Linked DNA regions of Homo sapiens: region 2 is linked to region 1. The links are contacts of gene promoters, found by promoter capture Hi-C in human tissues and cell types (Jung and others, 2019). All regions are on one chromosome and are shown on one strand. Each heading gives the region's core, a stretch centred on a gene start or on the middle of the fragment in contact. The rest is flanking DNA. Distances are from core to core; before and after follow the strand shown.

Evidence for each region. Contacts are between HindIII fragments. The study calls those that stand out against the background at their distance.
Region 2: a contact is called between a fragment that was not itself captured here and the fragment with the promoter of PAPPA in region 1, in 3 of the 25 tissues and cell types used here (H1 embryonic stem cells, IMR-90 fibroblasts and mesenchymal stem cells).

What each region holds. Positions count from the first base shown.
Region 1 is chr9:116,151,290-116,155,086 of GRCh38, forward strand. It overlaps PAPPA (pappalysin 1), which reads left to right and starts at 2,502. Exons shown (of 22, transcript NM_002581.5): 1 at 2,502-3,298. The coding sequence starts at 2,884. The HindIII fragment of the contact is 11,414 bases long and covers 1-3,797 here.
Region 2 is chr9:115,758,919-115,762,988 of GRCh38, forward strand. All of the region lies in intron 2 of LOC105376234 (a long non-coding RNA gene), which reads left to right. Among named protein-coding and RNA genes, the nearest start is that of LINC00474, 160 kb to the right of the region's middle. The HindIII fragment of the contact is 4,498 bases long and covers 284-4,070 here.

The DNA of each region.
Region 1 (3,797 bases), core at 1,252-3,751:
ATAGTAAATGTATGTTCAATGAATGGATGAGTGAAATGTCTTGCCAAATGATCCCAGTGCATTTGAGGACGGAGATCAAGGAGTTCAAGGACCCATAAGACATGAACTTCGTTGTCCCTTCGTTTTCCTGCCTCCTACAGGAGAGAAATAACTTGGCCTCCTCAATTCTTGTTTGTCTTTAAGAACCTGAGGAGCACTTTGTCTTTGACAACAACAATAGAACAAATGGTATTCGTATATCATTTTTATTGTTTACAAAAGATTATACCCCAGAGCATATCTTGTCCTCAAAATAAATTTGCCAAGTAGATATTCCCATTTTAAAGGTAAGGAAGTGGAAGGGAAGAGAAATGAAGTGTCTTACTCAAGGCCAGTGAACTGATATGTGTTGGAGGGAGTAGGAAATGAGAAGTAAAAATCTTGTGCTCCCACTGCTGGTCTGAGAATTGAATAATTCCCAGTTGTCTAGGAATATTCAAAATTATTGTATACAATGACTTAAAATCCCCCTGGAAGACATGCAGTTTCTAAATGCCTAATTGCCACAACTGAAGTAAATCAGTAGTCATGGTCCAACCTCTATTGGAGAGGAAGGGGGATTTTGAATGATACAATTTATGTTGTTCAACATAGCTCTCTTTTTATCCAATGGCAACCTTTTACAGATGACTTGGAGTTGCAAAAAGTCAAAGATTTGCTTAGGCAAATTCTTTATTCATGACATTGTGCACCCAAGATTTTCTTTCCTCCAGCCAGTCTCTGGAAACACATTTAGGGTATTGTGCTATTTTCATTTTATGACTACAGAAACAGAGTTCAAACGTTCTTAGTCTAAGACTATTCAGCAACTTCTTTCTAAACTAGGAAGGTATGAATCTGAGATCTCCCATTTTCAGAAAGCTTCCATAATCTTTGCATATATCGCATTCCAGCTTTCATAGAGGGGATGTCTGAGTCATTTGCTCATCCGACAAATCGTCATACTTTTGCCAACAAACATTCTTCCTTGGTTTTCTCTCTTCCTGAAGCGTGTAGCAATGTTCCTAGCTCTCAAGAAAGATCTGGAGCAGCTCGGAAGATAAGAGCAATTGAAGAAGAAAGTTACAATTTAGTGGAGTTAATTTTATCGCAGACTTTCAGCACGCTATTCACATGCAAACTTCACACAGAATATTTTTATCACTACCTTATTGGAATAGATTGGTAATTAATAGCTTGTAATCCACCATTGCTAACATGTTTTGACTTATTAAACACTTGGACAAAATAAAAGAAGATCTGTTTTGCCATAAGGGGGAGCTTTTGAGTTCTATAAAGAGGGGGAAAAAAGAAGAAAAAAATATATTACATGTATGTCCCAGTTCAAAAACAGACCTACAAAGCAGCAAATGGTCAGATCCTTACCTGTGACTTTAACAATTTCAGAGGACCTGAATTGCTTAAGTTGAAAACATTAGGCAAATTAATATTTTTCTCTCATTTTCTTCTTATAAAATTAAAATAATTTCTAATGACCAACAGAGTATTTTAAAGAGTATTCGGGGAAATTCAGAGACCCAGTTGTACTAGGACTACAGCTTCTGAAAGGCAGATGTCCTGGACAGTGCCTTTCTTCTATTTTCTTCTGATGATTCCATAAGAACTTTGGAAACATTTGGGTTAGCTGAAGCCAGCCTTATCTGGGGGCTCAGAAAAGAGGGGAATGGTTCATCATCGTACAACTTTAAGGAAATTCTGAGAGGGAAAAGGACAGGGAAAAGAAGAGGGAAAGAGGTAAAGGGAGAGGAAGCGGGAAGAAGAGTAAGGGAGAGAGTGAGAAAAAGAGAAAGAGAGGGAGAGGGAGGGAGGGAGAGACAGAGAGAGAGAATTAAAAAAAAAAATCTAAGAATCAAGTTTCAAGACTCTTTATGTGCTACAGAAAAGGATGAGGTTTACCAGCAAAGTGCAAAGGGGATCCTAAGAGAAGAGACAGATTTTTCTCCTGCCATCAGAAATAATAATAATAAGTGGGGGGAGTGAGGGAGGGAAAAAAAGCAAGCAAAACAAAACAAAAACAGGAATGTGTGTTTTGAGCAGGAATGAGAGCTGGGAGGACCGTAAGGGGGTGTGTACAGAATTTCATTAAATTGTTACTTTAAGATTGTCTCCTTAAAAAAAAAAAAAAAAAAAGAGAGAGAGAGAGAGAGAGAAAAGGAGGGGGTGGTGGAGAAGCGGGAGCGAAGGAAAGGAGGCAAAAGGCAAAGTGAAGGAAAGCTGGATAGCTCGGCCTCTCCAAACTGATTGATTAGTCATGATCCCCGCAGTTTTAACAGGGACTCATTCAATTGGGAAGGTGGAGCGCTGGGGAGCAGATTAGCATACGCTTGTTTACTCATCTTCTGAGGGATTTTTTCCCCCTCTTTCCTTTCATTTTGAGAAGAAGGAGGGAGGGGAGGGGGGACTTGGGGGGGGAGAAGGGGGCTGTGGCTTGTGTTATAAAGGACGCAAAAAATAAATAAATTAGAGCATCTTTTGGGGGGAGGGAATTCAGCGGATCAGTCTTAAGAGGAGCTTTTTTTTGGAGCGAGAAATCATATAAAATAAAATGAAATAAAACAAGGAGGAAGGCAACCAGCTGTTAGGGGAAAAATAAGGCAGATAAAGGAGCGGGGAGAGAAATTAATTGCCAACCAGGAGGAGTTGGGCTGTATTTTTCAAAGGTGGGGAGAGTGGAGCACACACCTTGAGGAGGAAAGCGAGAAAGAAAAGAAAAAAGCAAGTGGAAAGGGGGGCTCGCCCAAGAAGGGTGAAGAAGCGAAGAAAGTCGAGGCGCCGAGGCTCCCAAAGCTGGCAGCTCCGGGTGGCGGTGCAGGGGCGAAGGGGGGGCGGGGGGAACCGTCGGACATGCGGCTCTGGAGTTGGGTGCTGCACCTGGGGCTGCTGAGCGCCGCGCTGGGCTGCGGGCTGGCCGAGCGTCCCCGCCGGGCCCGGAGAGACCCGCGGGCCGGCCGACCCCCGCGCCCCGCCGCCGGCCCGGCCACCTGCGCCACCCGGGCGGCCCGCGGCCGCCGCGCCTCGCCGCCGCCGCCGCCGCCGCCGGGCGGTGCCTGGGAAGCCGTGCGCGTCCCCCGGCGGCGGCAGCAGCGGGAGGCGAGGGGCGCCACCGAGGAGCCGAGCCCGCCGAGCCGGGCGCTCTATTTCAGCGGGCGAGGCGAGCAGCTGCGCCTCCGGGCCGACCTCGAGCTGCCCCGGGACGCGTTCACGCTGCAAGTGTGGCTGCGAGCGGAGGGGGGCCAGAGGTCTCCGGCAGTGATCACAGGTAGGTGAGGGCGCCTCGGCGGGCGCTGCACCGTCCCTGCGGCCCCAGAGGCTCGCGGGTGTCTGGGCGCGGGTGGCGGGCGGGTCGGGGGCTTGCGGGCGTGTCTGTGCGAGAGCTGCCCCGCGAGCGGCGCAGAGACATCCGGGCGAGCTGAGAGCCTCACTTTGCTCCATCGGTGGAATGGGCACACTCGGAAGGCGTAGCTGCTCCATCCCTGGGAGGAACCTGGGGAGCCCTCCTGGCGGCCCCGCGGACCCTCGGCCAGTGAGGGCTGGTTCCCGGAGCCTAGGGCACGTAACCCGTGCTCCGAATGGTCAGATGCACTCTCTCCTTTTGGGATGAAAGGGAGGATGACCCAATTGAGATGCATGTGAAAGGAGACTTGGGGACCGTTGATTTCTTTGACGTTTTAATGGAGGTAACTCCCCTTCATTAGGCCCCATTCCCCTGAAAGCCGGCAAGGGCAAGGTTGTTGTAATGGCCAGGACTTAGAAGTCCT
Region 2 (4,070 bases), core at 1,283-3,782, 390 kb before region 1:
GATAGGCAGAAATTAACAGACATTCCTTCCATTCTGTGGGTGTTTAATCCATCCCTGACAATGTGACAGTGCTAGAGACTGCAATAAATTGGTGAACAAAGCTGACACAAACCTTTCTTGGAAAATTGATATTCTAACAGGAGAAACACACACATACACAAAAGTAACAATAAAGACAGCAAAGAAGTGCACACATAAAAGTGTTCTGTGAACAGGAGATAAAAGAGGGAATTATAGGGGACCACGATTTAGATAGGGTAGTAATGGAAAGCCATTCTGAGATGATATTTTAGTAGGGACCTCAAAGGTAAGAAAGTGCAACCTCATGAAGAGGCTGAAGAAGGAATATTTTAAGTAAACAGAATGGCATTGGCAAAGGCTTTGAGGGTGGCATAAACTAGACAAGTTTAAGGAGGTGGCTAGAAGAGGAAAAGAGTGGAAAGAATTACCATGGGAGGAGTTGGGAGCTGGGTTATTGCCTCATGTGAAGAACGATTAAGGTAAGCAACAGTGGAGTAGAAATCACCTTTGAATTACTGTCATCACCATCCAGGAGCTGCTGGGCTAAGTTCGTGGCAATCAGTGAGAGAGAGAGAGATGGATGAATCCAATGATAGGCATGAAGACAATTTACAGGGCTTGTTTATGGATCAGTGCATAGAGCCAAAGACGGAAGAATTTTAGGGATGATTCCCAGATTTTTATTTGAGAAACAGGACGGATGATGGAGCCATTTACTAAGAGGAAGATAATGAGGTAGTGCCAAGTTTCGGGAGGAAAATCTAGTTTTATTTTAAATGTGCTAAACTTGAAATATCTGTGAATGATGTAGTCAAAGACAAGAATAGCAAAATTTGAAAGCAAAAAGTAATTCTTTTTCCTGTAGTAAAAAAAAAAATGGATAGGACTCTCAACAAAGTGAACAAAAATGTGTTCAGATCATTTATTTGCTTAAGCTTTTCAATGGCCCTGTTTTTCCTCCTGTCTAAGGATCCTGACACTTGGCTGGGTATTCAAGGCTCTCTGTGGTTTGTCCACAACCACTTCCCCTACTTATCCCACACTGCAACACAACAGACAGTCCCTCATTTTATAAAGTATTCATTTCCAAAATTAGGGAATACCTTTTTCCCTCCTTCTCAGGTACATGTGATCTAAATGGAGTGGTATTATAAGAAAGAAGGGAGTGAAAAACAAAGTATTGTTTTTTCTAATCCATGAATCATTGGTTTATGGACCAAGGCTATTGTATTAAGGCTGATTTTGAAAAGTAAAACATAAATACTTGCTAATCCCCTATTTTTTATTCATTTGTTTCCTTCTCTGCCTCAGCTAACCAGCTCACTGCATTAACTCACTTGGAAAGGGGAAGAATTGGCTACCAAATAAGCCCACTGCTGGATAGGTATGAGTTAAACTCTCAGAACCCTTAGCCCTCAGACCTTCTCTAAGAGGCAGAAATGGGGTTTTTGATGTTAATAGAAATATACTCACTGTGTTTCACTGGGACAATGACCTCGAAAACTCATTGGCTGAATTGCCTATAATATGTTGGGCAGGTACTTGGCACTCTAAGGGGAAGTAATAACAAGGGAGGTGCATTCTTCTTTCTCAGAGAACTTGTAGTATCTGGGAATACAAGGTTGGAAGCTGTCAGTCCCAGGAATAAAGGGCATTTAAATTGTTATCAGAAATAAGATGATGGAGAGAGAACCTTTAGATGAGAATAATATGAAGAGCTTTATGGAAGAGGATCTGTTTGAACTGGGCCTTAAATTATGGATATGATTTCAACAACATGGAAAGAAAGATATTTCAGGAGGAAAGTAGACTGGAACAGAGGCTGGAAGATCAAGTATGTGCTTGTCAAACTAGAAGTAGTTCACTAAGCATGGAAAGTAAAATCTGAAGTAGAAGGTAAGGATGAAAAAAAATTGGTTGAGTCCAGAAGTTAGAAAAACTTGTTGGTTGCTTCTTCCGTATCTAATCCACCAACCTCCACAATTCTGAGCCTGAAAGATTTGATGGGATTAGCTCCACTATCAGTTCTATAGAAGGGGGTCCTGATTAGATTGAATTTATCCTTGTATCCCATTCTCATATTCAAAAGGATTAATCCAGAGATATTAGCTGGTGGGGGGTAAAAGAAGATACTCTTCTATGGGTTTTGAGCAAGCCAACCTCTTTATCTTCAATGCATACTATAGGATATTACTCTCTTTCTCTTGCTGGATGTAGACATGGAAATCTGAAGTTCTAGGACCAGAGGAAAAGTAAATAATAAAAATAATCTGGCACTGAGTAAGCAAGGCTAAAAATTAAAAAGGAGAAGAACTGAGTCCTGACAACATTTTCTTTTGAGCCAGTGGATTAAAGCTTACATGAGAGTATTGCTATTTCTGGACTTTTAAGTTCCATGAGCCAATAAATCCCCATTATGTTTTAAGTCAATTTGACTAGTATTTGCTATTACTTGCCATTCAAAGCATCTTGATACAGAATCCTTGAAAAGTACATTAAACTTTGTTGGCAATAAGAGATCTACTGATATTTGTGTCTCCCAGAGTGCCATAATCTGGAAAGTAATCCTTATGGTAGTGCACAATGCAGAACACCATTAAGTCAGGATAGTCCAAAACAGAGTCCATGAAAGTCAGCCAGTCTTTTAATTTGCGATTAGTCTTATTTTGTTCTCATTCCATGCCTAGTCATTCGACTTCTCTCTTTGTCTCCCAGAAGAGGAAAGGAAGTAATTCTACTTATGTCTTTCCTTGAGAAGAACTACCTCCCTTGGGCTTGGAGCCTGACACTGTTTTTCTCTCTCCCACTGACTCCATAGATGTATTCATTTCTCTTTAGGTATTTAATATAAACCAGATAAGCCACAAACTTATAATAACTTGAGTCAATTTCAATTCTAAGGCAAGTTGAATCTTTAGGGCCAATGCTTCAAGTACAAGATACTGTGATTTCAATGACAATGAAACTGTTTGGGGAATTGCTTTCCCAAACTTTTCTACCAGTGTTTAGATTATAGCATGCAGTCCAGGAGTATATTATGAGTGATCCTCTTGAACTTTGTCAGAAAGTCCTCATAAATCACATTCAAGAAAATATATTTAACTTCCATATACATATATATGAAATTTAAGAACTTGGACAAGTGGAATAAATTCCAAACTGTCAGTTTATAGCAGTAACTTTCTTTTTCAATTTGGAGATTGAAATTTGGGGTGAGAAGGCTCTAATGGAAATAGCATGTTCTCTGAGAAACCAGAGGTGCTGCTTGACTTCTGGAATACTTTATATGGAATGATACCTTATTTTGGAATTTTAGAAAGCCTGAGTTATGGGCCCAGGTATTTGTGGGATTCCACCATATCCCAGCTGCTAAACCTTAGCCTTTTCATCAATGAAATGGGTTTAACATTTCCATTTTATGGTAGACCATAAAAGGAAAATATTCCTGAATAAATAAAATAATATTTACAATTTATTGTGCTGTTACTATGCTTCAGGGGCTGTGTAATAGACATTAGTATTTATCATTTATTTAGCTCTTAATATTTATAAGGTACTAAGTATTCATACTCACCCATTCAAATAATGTAAGTACCAATATTATCATTTTCTAGATAAAAAAGTTGAGGCACAAAAATATGAGGAATTTACCTAAGGTCACACAGGCAAAATATGTGAAAGCAGAGAATCAGAGGGGGGCAGTCTGATTTTTACAGAACCTGTTACTCTTCCTTTTCCTAGTAGCACTGAGAGCTGGGTACTGGGAATATCATTTTATCAGATGAGAAAACTAAGACTCTTTTTGTTTTGTGCTACAATAACAGAATACCGCAGACTGGGCGATTTATGAAGAACAGAAATGTATTTTCTCACAGTTCTGGAGGCTGGCAAGTCTAAGATCAAGGCATCCATATCTGATGAAGGCCTTGTTGCTGTGTCCTCACATGGTAGAAGGCAGAAGGGGAAGAGGGAGATCAATCCTGTGTCTTCACATGGCCGAAGAGAGCGAGAGAGTAAAGCCATTCCTGCAAGCGTTTTTACAGTGGCAT